Linked DNA regions of Homo sapiens: regions 2, 3, 4, 5, 6 and 7 are each linked to region 1. Evidence: promoter capture Hi-C in human tissues and cell types (Jung and others, 2019). All regions are on one chromosome and are shown on one strand. The core of a region is centred on a gene start or on the middle of the fragment in contact, and the rest is flanking DNA. Distances in the headings are between cores, read along the strand shown.

What was found. Contacts are between HindIII fragments. The study calls those that stand out against the background at their distance.
Region 2: a fragment that was not itself captured here is called in contact with the fragment with the promoter of ETV1 in region 1 in 1 of the 25 tissues and cell types used here (lymphoblastoid cells).
Region 3: a fragment that was not itself captured here is called in contact with the fragment with the promoter of ETV1 in region 1 in 3 of the 25 tissues and cell types used here (dorsolateral prefrontal cortex, hippocampus and mesenchymal stem cells).
Region 4: a contact is called between a fragment that was not itself captured here and the fragment with the promoter of ETV1 in region 1, in 1 of the 25 tissues and cell types used here (mesenchymal stem cells).
Region 5: a contact is called between a fragment that was not itself captured here and the fragment with the promoter of ETV1 in region 1, in 1 of the 25 tissues and cell types used here (stomach).
Region 6: a contact is called between a fragment that was not itself captured here and the fragment with the promoter of ETV1 in region 1, in 1 of the 25 tissues and cell types used here (H1 embryonic stem cells).
Region 7: a fragment that was not itself captured here is called in contact with the fragment with the promoter of ETV1 in region 1 in 1 of the 25 tissues and cell types used here (lymphoblastoid cells).

The regions. Positions count from the first base shown.
Region 1 is chr7:13,988,413-13,991,112 of GRCh38, forward strand. ETV1 (ETS variant transcription factor 1) reads right to left here and starts at 1,254. Exons shown (of 14, transcript NM_004956.5): 1 at 1,151-1,254; 2 at 856-1,052; 3 at 596-727. The coding sequence starts at 640. The HindIII fragment of the contact is 5,948 bases long and covers 1-2,700 here.
Region 2 is chr7:13,637,302-13,640,042 of GRCh38, forward strand. All of the region lies in intron 2 of LOC107986770 (a long non-coding RNA gene), which reads left to right. Among named protein-coding and RNA genes, the nearest start is that of ETV1, 350 kb to the right of the region's middle. The HindIII fragment of the contact is 3,683 bases long and covers 1-2,741 here.
Region 3 is chr7:14,469,582-14,472,281 of GRCh38, forward strand. The region is part of intron 21 of DGKB (diacylglycerol kinase beta); the gene reads right to left. Among named protein-coding and RNA genes, the nearest start is that of DGKB, 430 kb to the right of the region's middle. The HindIII fragment of the contact is 7,074 bases long and covers 1-2,700 here.
Region 4 is chr7:14,405,427-14,408,231 of GRCh38, forward strand. The region is part of intron 21 of DGKB (diacylglycerol kinase beta); the gene reads right to left. Among named protein-coding and RNA genes, the nearest start is that of ETV1, 420 kb to the left of the region's middle. The HindIII fragment of the contact is 5,499 bases long and covers 1-2,805 here.
Region 5 is chr7:13,566,082-13,568,781 of GRCh38, forward strand. All of the region lies in intron 2 of LOC107986770 (a long non-coding RNA gene), which reads left to right. Among named protein-coding and RNA genes, the nearest start is that of ETV1, 420 kb to the right of the region's middle. The HindIII fragment of the contact is 3,843 bases long and covers 1-2,700 here.
Region 6 is chr7:14,426,285-14,429,103 of GRCh38, forward strand. The region is part of intron 21 of DGKB (diacylglycerol kinase beta); the gene reads right to left. Among named protein-coding and RNA genes, the nearest start is that of ETV1, 440 kb to the left of the region's middle. The HindIII fragment of the contact is 6,067 bases long and covers 1-2,819 here.
Region 7 is chr7:13,610,072-13,612,771 of GRCh38, forward strand. The region is part of intron 2 of LOC107986770 (a long non-coding RNA gene); the gene reads left to right. Among named protein-coding and RNA genes, the nearest start is that of ETV1, 380 kb to the right of the region's middle. The HindIII fragment of the contact is 7,071 bases long and covers 1-2,700 here.

The sequences.
Region 1 (2,700 bases), core at 4-2,503:
ACTATTTATCAATCATATATTCATGGTATCTCAGCATCAAAACAACCTGAAGCATTTACACTTAAAGTTGTTTTTAGGCTGGTTCAATGCTAGATTAAAACAGTGGGTTTTATTCTCTCTTGGACAGCCCCTCCTCCCCACCCCACCCCCACAAAAAAAAAAAGCAAAAAGAGTAGAGAAATGAAAAAAAAAAAAAAGAGAAAATGAGAAAAAAAAAAGAAACAAAAACACCCCATATAAACAAAAAGTGTCAGCATTTGTCTCAACTTCATTCTTTTCAATGTGGCAGACAAACCCAGCCAAAAACTTTGAGTGCAGCAGCTGCTGCTGCCCTCCATCTCCTCTTCCACTCATGTTGGGCACTTTAATCAGAAAAAGGGGTCTTAAAAACAAAACTATGCCTTATCCAAATCACTGAAAGGTAAGCTCATTTTGAAGACTGGGCTTCTAGAAGCAGAGTCGCCCTACAGTGGCAACAAAGCAGATAAGTATCTGCAATCCCAACCCCCGTGCCCCCTCCCTTCTCATTTTCTCCCTCTCCCCACCCCCGACGGAGTCAAGTTTATAAACAGCAACTTTCAAACTGATCACTCACATTGGTGACCATGTAAGGCACTTGCTGGTCATAAAATCCATCCATGCTGCTGCTCTTCGCAAATCTCAGCTCAGTATTTTATATTTTGAGCATTTAGCTGGAGATTTCCTCAGGATCTGGACTTCTATCAACCTAGAGGGGAACAAGATGGCTTTTAGGCTTAAAAAAAAATCATGAATGAAGCTCTTGAATTTGCATAGCTAATTACCCTCCGACAGTCCCATTCACAAAAATAACCCTCCCTACACCGCCTCCTTCACCTGGATCCAAAGAGAGCCAACAGAGTTCACAATTTACATATTTTCGGTAGTAGCAAAAATCCGAACAAGAGGCGATGTATTTATTTACACTCTCGATGTTTCCCTGCGCGGTCGGTGTACCCCGGGCAGCTCTGATTCGCAAACGTGTGCAAAACTAGCAATGGCGATCAACGAGACTTGCTTTGCACCTAACGGGACTAAAGAGACGGAGACACCTCTTTCATCAGGATAGTTTTTGCGACCCACAACCATGCAATTATCTGGAGAGACATAAAAAGTTGTTGGAAAGACCCACCTGAAGGCCACGCTAGGCGAAAGGCTGCAAAAACTTCCCTCCAAATTTAATAAAAACATTAATTATAGCCCAGCACTTCCCCCTTGGAAGCCGAAAGCGCCTCTGACAGAGCTCAATTCGGTGGTTTTTCCTCTACTTCTCCTCCAGGGGCCTCCAATCCAAACTGATGGATCGCTGCCTCCCATTGGCTCCGCGTCTCTTTCACAAGATCAGATTTCGGGCTGTCAATCAGGCGGCTTGCTGCCCCTTCCCGCGGGTCTCCCTCGCCCCTCTGCCCTAGGGGGTGCTCGGCCGGTAGGCGCTGGGTCCTCAGCCTGGAAGCGCCACGGAGAGACTCGATTTCCTCTGTAACCCGCTGCTTATTGTTAAGGCGCCTGGGGATACTGAAACCGTGTGTTTCGAGTCGCCAGTTCCCATTATTGGGGTGTTAGGTCCACTATTGGGCTGGTTTCCTTAAAGTACTGTTGTGCGGTTCTGGTATACCCTTAGAGCCGCGATCCACAAAGCCCGTACCGCCTTATTCAGCTGCCCTCCCCTCAGGATCTCCAACCTCTCTACTCTTGCCCTGACTAGGAGCTCACCTCGCTCTCTATCCTCATTCCCACTCAGCTTTTGGCCCAATTTATTTTCCCGTTTTTCAAAACCCACCATCACCATTATGGTTTATCGAAACATTTTTTAAACAGTCATCCTCAACTAAAATTAGATCCTATCGTTCGTGGGACAGAAACATAAAGAATCTATAAGGAAGGCACCTAGGAGATGCAGAATTGCTGATTAGCAGAGGTTGTGATGGGAGGACAACAGAGCAAGCTAGGTGAAAAAGTATAAGTCAAAATGGTCCCTACGTGTGCACTGGGAAAAGGTACTTCCAGTCCACTGTGGCTGTGGGGAGGAGGAGGGAGTGCTTGGGGTTGCTCGTATATCCTAGAACCCGCACGTTTCCTGAGCTTTTGTTATGTATACACGGAGGCGGAGGGTGTCACTTACTGTACTTGACGCTTTCACTTCCTCTCCAGCTTTTAAACAGCCAGAGCCCAGGGTTGGGGGCGAGCGGTGAGATGGCTCGGGTTTCAAGGACAATAACTAGGACGTTAAGCAGTGAGGGCTGCATCTCTGAAGCCACTTGCCCTGATCCTCCTATGGGACTCAGAACAGTAAAGCGTCACTTTAAGGAGCCAGTGTCCAACAGCGGACGGGAGGCCGCGGGGATAGGACCAGGGACTCAATGCTGTTGAAATTCATTTGTGACCAGAACTAGTGACCAAAAGACGTTTCCGGCAGCTGTTCCGCCCGTTAGGAAACGTGCTGCAGTTCTCAATTTCTATTTGAAAGTTTCCTTCCTTAAATAGAACGTTATGGAGACACATTAAAATGGAGTGTAAGAGCGCACAGCACTCAACCCCGGACCTGGGCAGGAGAAAGATCTACTTAAAAAAGAAGCAAACAAACAAACAATCAACACTTATTACTGGGAAAACAACCAATAACTATGGACAGCAAAGACAGACCCCGCGCATTCCCGGAAACTACTAAATCGGAGTTCACAA
Region 2 (2,741 bases), core at 21-2,520, 350 kb before region 1:
CACCCCATCAACTACTGCTATTAAACTGTATAATACAGCTCAGCTATCCACAAGAAACAAATAAAAACAAAAAAAACTCACACCCCATCAACTACTGCTATTAAACTGTATAATACAGCTCAGCTATCCACAAGAAACAAATAAAAACAAAAAAAACTATCAACGAATTATAATGCTGCCTGGAAAACATGAGAAAATGCACTCATCAATCCTACTTCATACTCCCCATCCAGTCCCACACATAAACAAACAACTGCTTAGCTATCTAGTTAAAGTCTCTTAGGGGCCTAACAATGTGTCAAATGTCACATGCTTTTACCTGGGACATCAAAGCATTTATTACAGTGATCAACAAATTATAGTCCATGGGCCAATACAGACTATTGACTGTTTTTGTAGATAAAGTTTTATTGGAACACAACTACATCAATTTTGTTACATATTATCCATCTTTAGTTTTGCAATGAAAGAAAGTGCAAGGTCCTCAAAGCTGAAAATATTTTCTATCTGGAAATTAACAAAAAGAGCTTGCCCATCTCTATTCTATAAAGAACTTTGAAGGCATGATTAGGGTACATAGATAATAATTCTCAAACAATGTAGGCAGGACATTAATGTGTATAAAGTGCCAGTTATGTGCTAGGCATTGCGTTTGGCATTTTCACAAAATCATAACGTTTAAATGAAGTATTTTAAATACCGTTCGACGTAATTAAAGTGGTACAGAGTGCGTATTTCTAGTAAATACTTATGTTGGGATTTGAAATAACTTCCCTCAACAAATAATGAACAGTTTGCCAAAAGCAGAGTCTAAGCAAGGGCAAAGAAAGAGGAGGCTTTGGAGACTAGAATGATGTTATTCTGAGCAACTTTCTAGGGCAGCTCCGTGAAGTTGAAAGAACACTATCTTCCAGAGATAGGAAAATCTTTATGTCTCAGTGGAGAGTCTCAACTGTTGTGGTCTTCGGGGTGCTAATGTTACATTTGGTTTGTCAACAGCAGATAATGAATTGGCATTGGAGCAGGTCAACAAGGGACCGCAGATCATCAGATAGGTGGGAAAAAAGGAGGTGGTAACAAAACATGTTTGTTTTTCTTATAATAACATGATATAATTCATCCCAAATACTGGGAACAAAGGAGGTAATCAGATTGGGTCATTGAAGACAGCAGGCCAAGGAAACTGTTAGCCTCTCTCCTTTCTCCACCCTTACCAAAAATATCTGATTCCTTCTTGATTCTGCTTTGTTCTTTAATTGCCACATCAAGTCACTTAGTAGATACTGACTTTTCTACTGCTAAATTTCTTCTTCGTATTACCCTTGCCTTTTCCTGTCTTCATAATTTCCTACCTATGTGGATGCATTTTTAAATTTATTCATTCAATATTTATTAACCACCTACCTCTTGCTAGAACCCATGCTCATCATGGGAGAAACACCCTGGTAAAAAAGGGAGACCATCTCTTCCCCATGTTTATGTGTTGTGGTTAGTAATGTCAAGTGTTTAAGCGACGGTGAGTACAATGGCAAGGAAGAGCCAAGTTTTAGAAGGCCCCAAAAGAGAAATTTATTCTTAACTTAGGATACTGGACTTCCTGAAAGAAGAGTTTTAAACTAAAATCAATAGAGTGAGAATGAGTTAGCCAGAGCAAATGAAAATACTTGGATGTAAAAACATAAAAAAGACCAACGAACTGAAAATTCTTTTATAATATATGTCAGAATGAAACACTTAAAAACGAAGCACTTATAAGAAAAAGATGATAATCTTTTTACTAAGAATGTGTATGTGTGATTTTATTTATATGACATACATGTATATGTATATATACACATATATGATTATAGCCATTTACTTCTTTAGAAATACATTTATTTAGAACATATAGTTCTAAATATGCAGAAAGATTTATAAACTATAGATACAAAATATTATATACATATGTATTTCTCAAGAATCAGACAACCATCTGCTCTTTAATGTAGCTGTGATATTTCCTTATATCTAGAAATAATGCAAATTATCCCCTTTCGGGGACAATTCAGAACCTTATGGAAAATAAACAGGGTAACTATGACAGAGTCCTTCCTGTGTTTGCTGACGAGTAAGAGAGCAGCACCATATGCTTTCATGTACATTACCCCAGGAGGGCAGTGCCATATGTTGACACGTATGTCACCTGTCTTGGTCTTTTGTATAAGGCAGTGTCCCAAGGGGTATGCCAAATAGGGAAAGAGAAGGCAGCCACATGAGTATGAGGATGTGGCATGTTTCCCTTGTTGACAGATTTTGCTAGACCATCACTTCAGTTGGCAAGCACCCAGAACAGCTGCTTTACCCTGGAGCAAAGGTCTTTGTGATCCCACAAACGCTCCCCAGTGAGTGAGACAGTGGAGGGAAGGTGTTGTGCCCTTTGGGAGTGGACTTTTCCTCCTACTGTGAGATGTGAAAAAGGGAGTAATTACCATGAAAGACTTTTCACGGATTTTGTACTAACTCTCACCTTTGCCAGTAAGTTCCGAGAAAATGGGTGAGCATCTATTTATACATAATTGAAATCCTTCATATTAAAAACAGAGAGACCAATATAATAATGTAAAAGACTTTGTTGATCAAAATTTGCTTCATTATGATTTAGTGATTTCATTCACATGTTATTTAAAGATCAGTGTTGATTTCTCACCTCTTAGGTATCTTTCAAGGCTGTACATACATAATACTTCAGGCCATAATTCCAT
Region 3 (2,700 bases), core at 22-2,521, 480 kb after region 1:
GTGTTCTGGTTTTATTAATGGTGCCAAGAAATGATGCAGGAAGCTTCAGGTGAATTGAAACCCCCTGCATGAGAACACACACAGTCCTGACTCATTTAACCATTCTCATTTCTACCTGCTCAGATCCAACAAAGTATTTAAGCAAGTCTCAACATACAAATAAAAATATATGAATCGAGGAGCATAGTAAATTATTTTAAAAGCTTTACATTAGGAATACACACATAGAAGAGCACATATAATTGTAAGAGATTTATATAAATATGATAAAATGAAAACTCTTAGCAAATATATATGTATACAAATATATAAATCGATGCATCACAAATACATATATGTATACACATATATACATCTATATATTTACCTATTTATCTGTACACTATATGGTTTATAGGCAAACCGTAATTTAGTCATATGGAAAAACTGGCCTCATGATAATGCTTACACACACAAATTTCAAAAATTTCATTTAAATGATATAGCAAAGTATTCTAAGTTAGAATGAAAAATGAGTATGTTTCTTCTTTAAAAACACATCAATTCATTCTAGTACACAGAAACTAAAGACATAAAAGTGCTTTAGGACATGAAACTCTCATGAAGATATGATTCTCTTCAAAAGGTCCCTGCACAACACCACTATTTCTAATAAAACTGATTTTATTCAAAACACTAAAAATGACAAACATTTAACTTTTAATTTCAGTAGTCCTGTTTACCTAGTTGGCTAATAAAAGATAGTGACATATACACAAGGTAGAAGTGTGCCTTAAAACATGATAATAATTTACATTTTTAAATGAAAAAAATTCAGTCTACAATAATGAACTTGTCTTGACTGAGGCAAAAGTGAGGTCAAATACCTGAATGATGACATTGTGATATACTTCATCCTTTCTTTACTTTCACTGTTTTTAATAGATTGTGAATGTCAGTAATTTAAAAATCAATTGTACTCCTGAAATAACAGTTTAATTCCTAAAAGTTTAAAGTGAAAGAAAACATGAATTCCTACAAATGTGATTCTACAAAGATACATGTTAAAAGCCTTCAGAGGAAAATAAATACAAATATCTCCTATATTCTATTTGCTATGTCATACCTGACTCAAAAATATATGTAAGATACACATTTAAGAGAATATCTCATGAAATTGATTGGATGCCAATTTTCAATTGGCTTTTTTCATTTGTACATTAAAGATTCTTACAGAAGATCAAGAAAATTATAAATATGAATACATCAACAGAATATATCATCATGATGTAAGACAATTTGAATTGCTCTGGAACTTCAAAAGCATTTTGTTGAATTCACAGAAATAATTTCTCAATGGTACTTTATATGGTAAGTAAAAATATTTGGCTTTGATATAGCATTTTTCTGTCACTACTGAAATATTATATTTTTAACTTCTCATTATATTCTAGAACTTTAATGGAATTTTTATCTCTAGATAACAAATGGCAATTTTGTGTTCTATTACTCTAGTCTGTGGGCTTTTCTTTGTCTCTATAGCAAAATAGAAAAAAAATACACAGGTTTGATTTTTCTATTCTTAGAAATGATAATTTTCCATATATATGGAATATATGTATATATACATATATGTATGGAATATATGTATATATACATATATATGTATGGAATATATGTATACATACATATATGTGTATGGAATATATGTGTATACATACATATATGTATGGAATATATGTGTATACATACATATATGTATGGAATATATGTGTATACATACATATATGTATGGAATATATGTGTATACATACATATATACACACACATATATGTATAAGCATACATATATGTATAAGGAGAGTGATATTTTATATTTAGTCTTCAGTTCAATACCATCAACACATAAAGAATAATAATTTGAAAATTGTATACTGCTGACATATAAATTGATAAGAAGAAGCACAAACTAATCTATAAGTAATCTCATATTATTTATTTGTAGGACACAGTGCTCAGGGATTTATGTTAAAGAATTTTTGTTTGTTTTGCATTGCTGGTTCTTGAAGGTTATGTACGTAAAGGCTGAGAAAACTAAAAGGTATTAATACCTCAAATAATAGTTATGTAGAATGAAGACTCACTCTACATATCACAGTTCAATCTTTATTGCATTTTTTGCACTATAAAAGCATAAACTATAAAGGTAGTAAGATATATAGAAAAATATAGAGAAGATAAATATACCATGAAATAGTAAATAACTTACAGAATAAATACCTATTGAGTACACAGTATGTTCCACAAACTGTGTAGTTACTAAAGCCCAAGAAAGAAAAAGCAGAAAGTAGTACAGAAATAAATCACATACTTCTGACCAGGGGGCTGAGAACCTATCTTTGTTTCATTCCAAAAATTAGAGACCAGATACTTTGAAATAAGCTGCGTGGATTTAAACAGTATTATTGTGATCGCTGGCCATAAGTGCTTACTAGCTAACTTCTTTTAGTTTATTCTAGTAAAATGGTTTTAGGTGTTACACATTAAGAATTTGAATTGAATCACTGAAATCATGCTATGACTAGATTTTTAAGAAATCTTTGTAAGACCACCTGATACGGTTTGGCTGTTTCCCCACCAAATCTCATCTTGAATTTCCACATGTTGTGTGAGGTACCCAGTGGGAAGTAACTGAATCATGGAGGCAGGTCTTTCCCATGC
Region 4 (2,805 bases), core at 66-2,565, 420 kb after region 1:
TAAATTTGGATAATAATAGCCATTATGAAATCAGCTTGTAGTAAGAATTAAATGAGATAGGCTTCTTAAAGGATATAATCAGATTTTATGCATTCATTTTTTCTTTTACTCATTTAAGAAATCTGTATAATGAATCTAACATGTTTCATTCTAGGTGTTGAGGATGCAGAAACAATCAAGACAGACAAGGTTCTAGCCACCCTTGAGCTATAACCAAGTTGGAGAAAAAAGTCAGCATGCAAGTAAACAATAATCATTCAAGCTATATAGGTTGTGCCTCATGAAACAAAAGGACTTTGTATGTGAGAGAGTAATGGAAACCAGGCACAGCTTTTAAGAGATGATGTCTAGAATGGGACCTAAAGAAGAAGGAGCTCTCCATGCAAAAATATAAGAAAAGCCCATTCTAAGCGAGAGACATCAGGAAGGACAAAGGAACCGAGGCAGGAAAGAGTTTGGTGTCTTTTAGGAATAGATGAGAATCCAATCTTGGGCTAATGAAGCAACACAAGATTCGCAACAGCAGGGAGTTGCTACTATCTTTAGCTTGAAGGAGAAAAAGGAGGAGGTTGTATTACCAGAGCCCAGGGGTGGAGTGACCCAGCATAACATAGAATCTTAGTTGGTATATTCAAGAGAAGTTGGATCCAAAGAAGAGATACAGCCATTATTAGAGATGCTGCCCCAGAGGGAGAAGGAGAGATACCTTGAAAATTTCCCTTAATCCCTCCATTCGTTATATCACCAATGACTTCCAGTGACTGAACCAAATCAGATGCCAGATGACACAATAGCCTAGCAAATGCAGTCTAAGAATTCAATCTCCAACACACCCAGTAGAAAGAGCAAAGGGTAAGAAATTGACTTGAGAGCAAGTTGGCTCAGAACAGTAGACCCTTAAATTCATTAAGGGTCAACTACTTTAATACTTTGGGAAAATAATCCCACTATGCAGGGAAAGAGGATGAATTTTAAAATGTCATATTTTAGGTATATAAAGAAAAATCCTGCCTGACCCTGATATAAAGAAATGAAGATATTAGAAAAAAGTGTTGGCTCTACATGTCCAGGTACTACTGATCACGACAGCACTTACAGGCTCTAAATGGTTAACTTCCTGAAAAGTGGCTGTTATATGGAAAACCATAAAACAATCATTGGTGATCCTTGTTTCTATTTAAAAAAACATGCTCTTAGGTTCAAGTAGACTGACCCACTTTAGGACTATCTATCCCTAGGGATCTTGTAAAATGCAGAGAATGAGAAAAACCTTTAGAAGATGCTAAACTCTCCGCTTTTAAGCTAACTAGCATGTTGAACAATTTATTTGTACAATATGAGATATGACCATATTGCATCTCATCTTATGGAATTACTCAAGTTATATACAATTTTCTCAAGTGCTATTGCTAGTCTGGATGTAGGAGTGAAGAGAATAAATTGAGGGCTTGATCTATGTTTGGGGTTTTCAGAGAAGACATAGAAATGAAAGAAGAACAGATTGGTTGAGAATATAATCAAGTGATTATGGGTTCTGTATTGAGCAGATAATTTAGTCCAAGAAGATGCTTATAGTTATGAAAGAAAATTCAGGATCAAGTACATGAGGTCTATAGAAGGTCAAACAGTAGTTAAGAAGGAGTGAAGAAGTGTGAGAGCTAAAGGATGTAAAGTAGAAGTCAGAAAGTGAGGGCAATGAGGCATTCTAGTGCATGAATGTGACAGGGAGCAGCTGAAGAGAATGGAAGTGATAGTTCTAGTTCAACGGTTCCAGGAACTGCCATGTTAGGGAGTTAGAAAGTTGCCCACATGGATTTGAAATTTGTCCTTAATTTATTCATCAAATGTAGTTAGTGCTATTATGTCTATTGTTCAACGTTGCTGAGTAACAAACAACCTCAAAAATCCTATCGGCTTCCAATAACATTGTGTCTCGTGCTTATCAGACTGTGGTTTGACTATTTTCAGTTGATCTAGGCTGGACCATGTTGCTCCACGGTGTGAGACTGGAGAACTTTGCTCCAGGATTTCAGTCTTTTCTATGTGTGTTTATTTTAGAGGGCAGGCTGATGGAGAAGAAGCTACCTGGGTATGCTCTTCTTATTGAGAGTGACAGTACAGGAGGCAAAAGCCTAACCACACAAGCAAATTAAAACCTCAACTCACTTCATAGCTGCTAAAATTTCGTTGGCCAAAACAATTCATGTTTTATTAAAATAAACTGAAAACTGAAATTAATAAGAGGTTTTTCTTTTCTAATGAGTTGTATTATAAAATCATACGGCAAAATCTTTGGTTAAGACAGAGTAAATATTTCAAATGAAGATGCAATAAGAATGAAGACAAATGCTGTAAATCATGTGCTTCAGTGGACTTTGAGACTCTTGGCAAGTGAATGGAAGTCAACAGAGATCAGCAACAAGAGAGATAGAATAGACAGAACTAGGGACTAATGTTCAAAAAAAACCATGATCCTCTCCATGCCCCTACACAGAAGACCTTAGAAGAATAACAGTCTGGATAGGGCATAAGGCAGTGAAAAACAGAAACTACCCTCCCCCAATCCTCACAAACCATAAATAGCAGGTTGTGGGGGCATACTGATAATTACTAGTCATTAGAAGCTAACTGTGGAACACACACTGTAAGAAGACAAAACATATTTTATCAAACACAGTTATGAAGAAAAAACATGGTGGCTCCTGACAAAGTAGGCACATCCCTCTTTCACGGTTTAATGATCAATTACTCAGTTGAAGTTTTGGTCTCTGAGGATATCAGAGTAAGTGTGATTGATTGGGATTT
Region 5 (2,700 bases), core at 108-2,607, 420 kb before region 1:
TCTGTACCAAAAGTACCAAACATTAGCTGGGAGTGGTGGCGTGTGCCTGTGGTCCCAGCTACTTGGGAGGCTGAGGAGGGAGGATCGCCTGAGCTCAGGAGGCAGTTTGCAGTGAGCTGAGAGTGCCACTGCACTCCAGCCTGGGCAACAGAGGTGGACTCTGTCTCAAAAAAACAAACAAACAAACAAACAAAACAATAACAAGCATCGAAGCTCCTTTTACTGAATTCTTATTTAATGCATTTATCATATTTTCACTTATGATCTGAAATGTCAGTTTTATATACGTATGTGTGCATGTGAATGTGTGTTTGTATGTATATACAGAGAGACACAGAGTGTGTATACATGTGTGTATATATCTAGATATATATAGAGAGAGAGAGAGGGCAAGGCTGAAAGTCATTTATAGTGTCTCATTATTTTGATGGTCTAAATAATTGTGAATAATTTCCATTGTGATTTCTTCTTTGTTATTGACTTACTAAGAATTGTATGTTTAAATTTCCAAATATTTAGAGTATTTTATTTTACTGATTTATAATTAAATTATGCTGTAATATAGGAATGTCAGCTTTGAAATTTGCTGAGACTTGCTCTATGGACTATTCTGCAGTCAATGCTGGTAAAGTACTCTGTGTTTTAAGAAATATATTCTCCATTTAAGTGCAGGGTTTATATGGGACTTTTGGATTAAGATTAATATTTCCAATATTAAAATCTTTCTTCTTTTGAGTTTAATATATTGAGTAGGAAGAGAGTTGCATTAAATTATATGCTCTGATAGTGAATTTTTCAAATTCTTTTTGTACATTTGTCACTTTTTTATATGATTTGAACCTATGTTATTGGGCACATACCAGTTTAGAATTGTTATATCTTCTCAATGAATTCAAGCTTCCATTAATATATACTAATACCCTTTTGTCATGCTGTTTTAGCTATAAAATATTTTGGTCTAATTGCTACACCAGTAATTGTATTAATATTAGCCTGGCCTTTACTTTTCAACACTTCTTTCAGCCTGCCTATTTTGTAAATTTATGTATTATAAACACAATATGATCAAATATTTGAGACCAAACTGACAATCTTTAAAGTCAATATTTTATTTTAAAAAAAATCATTGTCATTACTTTCTATTATTTCCCCACTTAAATTTTGGTTTTAGTTATTCACATTTATTTTCCTTACTAGATTTTCCCCCCTGTATTAGGTAGAAAGTTCGGCAATCTATTTCTGTGTTCTTACGAATTTCTCTAGAAATTGTAAGGTGGTTGTTTTAATCAAATAAACCTTTACCCTCCTCTAAGGACTTTAATGTAATCTAACGGAATTTTCTGCTTTAGACTGTACTATTTCAAGATTTTTAGATCTCATTTTTAACTGAACAAGATAAACATCTAGTTATGATGTTACAACCAATATTTAAACTTCACAGCTTGTTTAACATTTATTTGCTTAGTATTCCCTCTTCCATCTGATACTTTCTGCACCCATTTTTTCTTGAAATACATCATTGAGAAATTTCTATAACTAAGAATAAGTTGATAATTATTTAGTTTATGTTTGTGTTTTTGAATTTTTCTTAAACATGGTTTTATTTTATATATAATTTTATATTGATACTTTTCTCTAAGGTCTGTGGAGAGAGAGTTCCACTGCCAAATGGTTTCCATTACTGCTATTGAGAAGTATTCTGTAAATTTACTTGTAACTTCTTTCTGGTCATCTCTTTATTCTTTCTTGACACTTCTAAGATTTTTCTCTTTTTTTGTCTTAAAGATTTCTGCAGTTTTACTACAAGGTATCCATGAATGAATTCGTTTGTCTTAATCATCTTGAATATTTTGCATACTGTATCTGTGATATCTTTTGTTAACATCTGGAAAGTATTAATGGTTATTTCTTCAAATAGTCTACTGTCTTTCCCCCTCCATTGACTCTACTATCTCCTCCGGAATGATGACGATGAATATGTTAGTCCTTCTCGTTCTTAATTTCACTTTGGTTATGTCCCAACACATTGTAAGTCTTGATTTTCTTTTCAGCTGTCTGATCTGCAGCTGATCTTATTTTAAGACTTTTTTCAGTTATTAAATAACTGCTATAAAAATTGCATTTTCTATTCTAAAAGTTTGAAGCCATTCCACTTCAAATCTACCTGGTCATTTTATATATTGCCATTTTTTGTTCATTTTTGTGACTCCATCTTATATTTTAAAATATTTATTTATTTATTTATTTATTTATTTATTTATTTTAGAGATGGGGTCTTGCTTTGTTGCCCAGGTTGGTCTCAGAATACTGGGCTCAAGGGAGCCTCCTGCCTCAGCCTCCTGAGCAGTGGGGACTTCAGGCATGCGCCACTAAGCTCAGCTTCTACTTAGACATTATTTTTTCTATTATGTGTTAATTTCAGCATATGAAATCTTTAAGGGTATAACTACCATATCCTTACTGTGTGTTTGCTAATTTTTTAAATAAGCTTTATTTTTTAGAGCAGTTTTAGGTTCATAGCAAAATTGAGCAGAAGTACTGAGAATTCCCATACTCCCTCTGCCCCATACAAATGCATAGCCTCCCTCATTATCAACATCCCCCACCTGAGTGGTACCTTTGTTACAACTGATGAACCTACACTGACACACGATTATCATCAAAAGTTCATAATTTACATTAGGGTTCAAGCTCAGCGTT
Region 6 (2,819 bases), core at 77-2,576, 440 kb after region 1:
GACTTAGAAATCTGTAAATTAAGCTAAGTGATTTAAAGCCATGCAGCGTACATGTGAGACACAAGAATCAAACCCTTAAGCTTTATTTGTGAGGAAGTAGCATTCATGTGTGCTTAGCCTACCAAGGGGGATCAGCAAATGTTTGCTGAATGGATGCATGAATGGATGGAGTGGCTTCATAGCACAATAAAGTCATGTACCACAATAGTTAGGGGGTACAGCTGGAAATAACAAGTCTTTATAAAGTGACCAGACTAAAACAGCTTTAATGCTGTCCCACTGCTACCTATTTGCCTACTGGGATCTGAGTGATTTGTTGAGAATGAAGTATCCTAGGCAACCATGCTAAAATTATGAGTTCAGAAAAGGCGAACTATTTAACAGGCTAGACATACTGATGGAAGCTATTGTGGGGCCTTCAATTTAAAATTTGTTGAATTTGTGTACTTAGTTCCACTGACTCTGTATTATTAAGAAATTCCACTATGGGCCAAGCGTGGCAGCTCATGCCTGTAATCCAAGCACTTTGGGAGGCCAAGGCAGGTGGATCACTTGAGGTCAGGGGTTTGAGACCAGCCTGGCCAACATGAGGAAACCCCATCTCTACTAAAAAAAAAATACAAACATTAGCCAGGCACGGTGGAGTGTGCCTGTAATCCCAGCTACTTAAGAGGCTGAGGCATGAAAATCACCTGAACCCAGGAGACGGAGGTTACAGTGAGCCAAGATAGTGTCACTGCACTCCAGCCTGGGTGACAGAGTGAAACACTCTCAAAAAATACAAGGGGGAACACACACTGGGGCCTGTCAGGGAGTGGGGGGTGGGAGAGCATCAGGATAAATAGCTAATGCATATGGGGCTTAATACCTAGGTAATAGGTTGATAGGAGCAGCAAACCACCATGGCACATGTTTACGTATGTAACAAACCTGTACGTCCTGAACAGGGGCAAAATGCCACCAGTCATTTTGCTAAAATGCAACAAGAGTCACCTATGCTTCACTTCCCAACAAGTTCTTCATCTCCATCAGCCTCAGCCTCAATTTCATTGCCCATATCACTATCAGCAGTTTGGTCAAAGCCATTCAACAAGTCTCTAGGGAGTTCCAAATTGTCTCACATTTTCCTGTCTTCTTCTGAGCCCTCCAAACCGTTCCAACCTCTGCCCAGTTACCCAGTTCCAAAGTTGCTTCCACATTTTTGGGTATCTTTTCAGCAGTGACCCACTCTACTGGTACTAATTTACTGTATTAGTCCATTTTCACGCTGCTGATAGAGACATATCTGAGACAGGGTGATTTACAAAAGAAAGAGTTTTCTTTACAGTTCCACATGGCTGGGGAGGACTCACAATCATGGCAGAAGGTGAAAGGCACATCTCACATGGTGGCAGACAAGAGAAGAGAGCTTGTGCGGGGAAATTCCCGTTTTTAAAACCATCAGATCTTGTGAGACTTATTCACTATCATGAGAACAGCACAGGAAAGAACTGCCCCCATGATTCAGTTACCTCCCACCAGGTCTCTCCCACAACATGTGGGAATTCAAGGTGAGATTTGGGTGGGGACACAACCATACCACAATGTTTTAGAATACATTTGGCCCTATAAAACTGTAGATTCAAGTCTACAATAATTTCTCAAAAGTTTTCTTAAATTATATCTTTCTCTATGTTTTAAATTTTCCTGTTTATACAGTTTGTTTCTACCAGCACATCAATTTTCTATTGATGGTTCATTTATTTTTCAATATTTTCAATATTGAAAATTTTATTGAATATTCAATAAAAAATATTCTGATTCTGGCAATCAGAAATAATAGGCAATTATTTAATGCCTATTGTATGCTAGACAGTGTTCTATACTTTGTTTCATAACTTTTTCTGTGATATATATATATAATTTTCTTTACAATCATCTTCCAATATTCTTTCATTTTGACTCATTTTGCTTACTTTATCAGTTCTGTTCTCTGAGCCCCTTATTACTCTCATCAGTGACTTTTTACTGCTTCTATTTTGACTTTCACTTCTGTAACTGCTTTATATTTACCTTTAACATCTTCCTTAGTCTCTCCTGGTTTGGGTTTTATCTTTGTGTCACTATACATTCTGAGGTATTGAAATACTGATTTGTTGTTTTGCATCGAGGTTGTTTGGGGGTATGAGGAAGTGAGAGGTTCATAAAATAAAACAGTGTGATTTCCTTCTGCTCATACCAATATTTTTCTTGTTGCTTTTCTCAGCCTGCTCCTTCCTCCCTTTCTTTTTCTCTTTTTGTTTTCCCACATTATTGTATAGAGCCTATACTTGTTCATTTTCTTCATTATTGCTCTTAAATGAAGTGAGTACAACAAAAATTGGGACTGTTAAGTGCAGAGTATCAGAGGTTTCCTCTAATTAATGGGAAGTTTCTTAGGATTAAAAATAGGTGCACATGTGATTGTGTAAGTGTGTATGTTTTTGCATTACATTGTATACCCCTCTCCCTTTAATTTTGCCACTCACTGATTCAGCTAATGGCAAGATCTGAGAACAAAAAAACCCATGCTCATTCAGATGCTAGGAAAACAGGCTGAAAAGAGCAGAGAACATTCCCCAAGCCCCTATTTTACTAAGGACTCTTTGTAATATAAAAAATATAAATTTTTTATCTGAACAAATGACCATTTTATATTTCTATATAAAAGTTGGTGGTTTAATAATACAGGACTAGAATAATGTAGATTTTTAATTTTCATAGAAATTAAACTCTGTAGCCAAAGGCCCTCAGAGATTACTAAACACAGAAGGCATATTGAAAACAGAAGATTCTATTTT
Region 7 (2,700 bases), core at 140-2,639, 380 kb before region 1:
ACACCTCATTAAATTCTACACAGATTGCAAAGCTAGCTATAATGTAAAAACAGGCAGACAGTCTGTCTCAATATTATTACAGGAAGGGTTGGTTAAATTAATAGCTTCTCATTGATTAAAAAATCTTGCATTTTACATGTTCTTAAGTTGGTTCCCACCATTATCTTTCAATAATAGAATGAGTCTTTGGAGAAATGTGGTTATATTGAACTATTAAAATACAAAGGTAGGCAAAAGATGTTTACAATATGCTATCATTGTTTCCTGTCATAAAATGCTAACTACGTGAAAAGAAAATATGTTTGCTTCCTATATTCTTAGTGATTTTTTATGCTTAAAATCTCCTACTGTTAAAAGTATAATTAGTCTATAATGTTAAGTAAGCATAAAACAGTATTACTGCATCATAATTTTCCTAGGCAAGACATCATTTTGTTCAGGTAATACAGTATCTGACATTGCATGTGACAATGCCACTGAAACCTTGTCCATTTGTACTCACTGTGAATTAGGAAATGCTCTCTTATTGGACTACCAGTCATCTGCATTTTGCATATATTCATTTATCTCATTTCCACTTTTGCTCATTTAATAAAACATGGTAATCACATGACTCACCTAGAAAGATTTTATTATAAATGTAGATTCTTATTCAACTTACATGTTTATTTCTGTTCTGTAGAAGTCTACATTTTTTTTTTTTCTGAGACAGAGTCTTGCTGTGTCACCCAGGCTGGGGTGCAGTGGCATGATCTCAGCTCACTGCAACCTCTGTCTCCCGGGTTCAAGCAATACTCCTGCCTCAGCCTCATGAGTAGCTGGGATTGCAGGTGCCCACCACAACAACCGGGTAATTTTTATATTTTTAGTAGAGACAGGGTTTCACCATGTTGGCCAGGCTGGTCTCAAACTCCTGACCTTGTGATCTGCCCGCCTCAGCCTCCCAAAGTGCTGGGATTACAGGTATGAGCCACTGTGCCCAGCCAAGTCTACATTTTTTAATACATATAATCCTTTATTAATTCAGTCTCCTTCTTCTCTTAAAGGTTAACAGTAGGTAATTTACCTTTCTTATTGTCAAGTTTACTGAAACACATATATTTATGATGTATTACTAAGTTCATTTAAATTTCAGAAGATTTATTCAATCAAAATTCAGTTGATGATATTATTATTGACAGTATTGGTCTTGTTAGTTATTCCCTTTCACTAATATCTTCAGTTAAATATGTTGCCATGTCAAAATTAATTTACTGACACTGAAGCAGCATTAAATTGCACTTTTTTTTTTTTTTGAGATGGAGTTTCACTCTTGTTGCCCAGGCTGGAGTGCAGTGGTACAATCTCCGCTCACCTCAAACTCCACCTCCTGGGTTCAAGCGATTCTCTTGCCTCAGCCTCTCTAGTAGCTGGGATTACAGGCATGTGCCACCATGCCCAGCTAATTTTGTATTTTTAGTAAAGATGGGGTTTCTCCATGTTGGTCATGCTGGTCTCGAATTCCCGACCTCAGGTGATTCGCCCACCTCAGCCTCCCAAAGTACTGGGATTACAGGTGTGAGGCACCACACCTGGCCTAAATTGCACTTTTATTTGATCATACTATATATACATATTAAATACCCTTTAAATATATATTATAAATTAATGTATTATACAACTGATATGTTAATGTAAGATTATATGAATATAACTTTTTTTTTTTTTTTTTGAGATAGAGCCTCGCTCTGTCACCGAGGCTGGAGTGCAGTGGCGCGATCTCGGCTCACTGCAAGCTCTGCCTCCCGGGTTCATGCCATTCTCCTGCCTCAGCCTCCTGAGTAGCTGGGACTACAGGCGCCTGCCACCTCGCCTGGCTAATTTTTTGTATTTTTAGTAGAGATGGGATTTCACTGTGTTAGCCAGAATGGTCACGATCTTCTGACCTTGTGATCCACCCACCTCAGCCTCCCAAAAGTGCTGGGATTACAGGCGTAAGCCACCTCGCCCCGCAGTATAACGTTATTTATGTGTTACATCATGATATATTATATATTTTTTATATATGTGTATATACATATATTAAAACACTTATTTAGGGTAATTGAAAACGCAGTCTCTTAAGTTGAGATACATTTCAGCTAAAAACAATCTATTCCTTAGTTATTAAATAATAAAATTCAGTTATGAAAGATATATATATTAAATATATTTGTGCAAAGTTATGAAATGATACACTATATTTCAGTATAATTAGAAACATTTACATAAGCAAAGTCATTAAATAGAGAAGATTTAGGTAGATTAAGATTAGCTTTCTTATTCCTATTTGTAATTATGCTATACATTTGAAAAACGCATTTTAGAAACTGTAATCTTAAAAACTATAGAATTATAAAAACTGTAATTAGATCTCAAAAAATCATCTTCTTAATGTGGACATATTTATCCATAACCAGATGTTAACGTATTAAGTTTTCACATTTCTTGAATATGGAAAAAATCTATATCATCCCCTTTTTTAAGCTAAAGGAAAAAATAATGTGTTGTATGTAAAGATGTTCTATGATCTTTGACACCACTGCTTTAGTGAGGTCATTTCTCATCTACTGTGGTGTTATTGAGTTTCATGTTTTGGATTGAATAACGTCCACTCAAATTTATATAATATTTGAGTATTATACAAGAAAACTCATTATTGCAGCCCAATAATATTTGGGT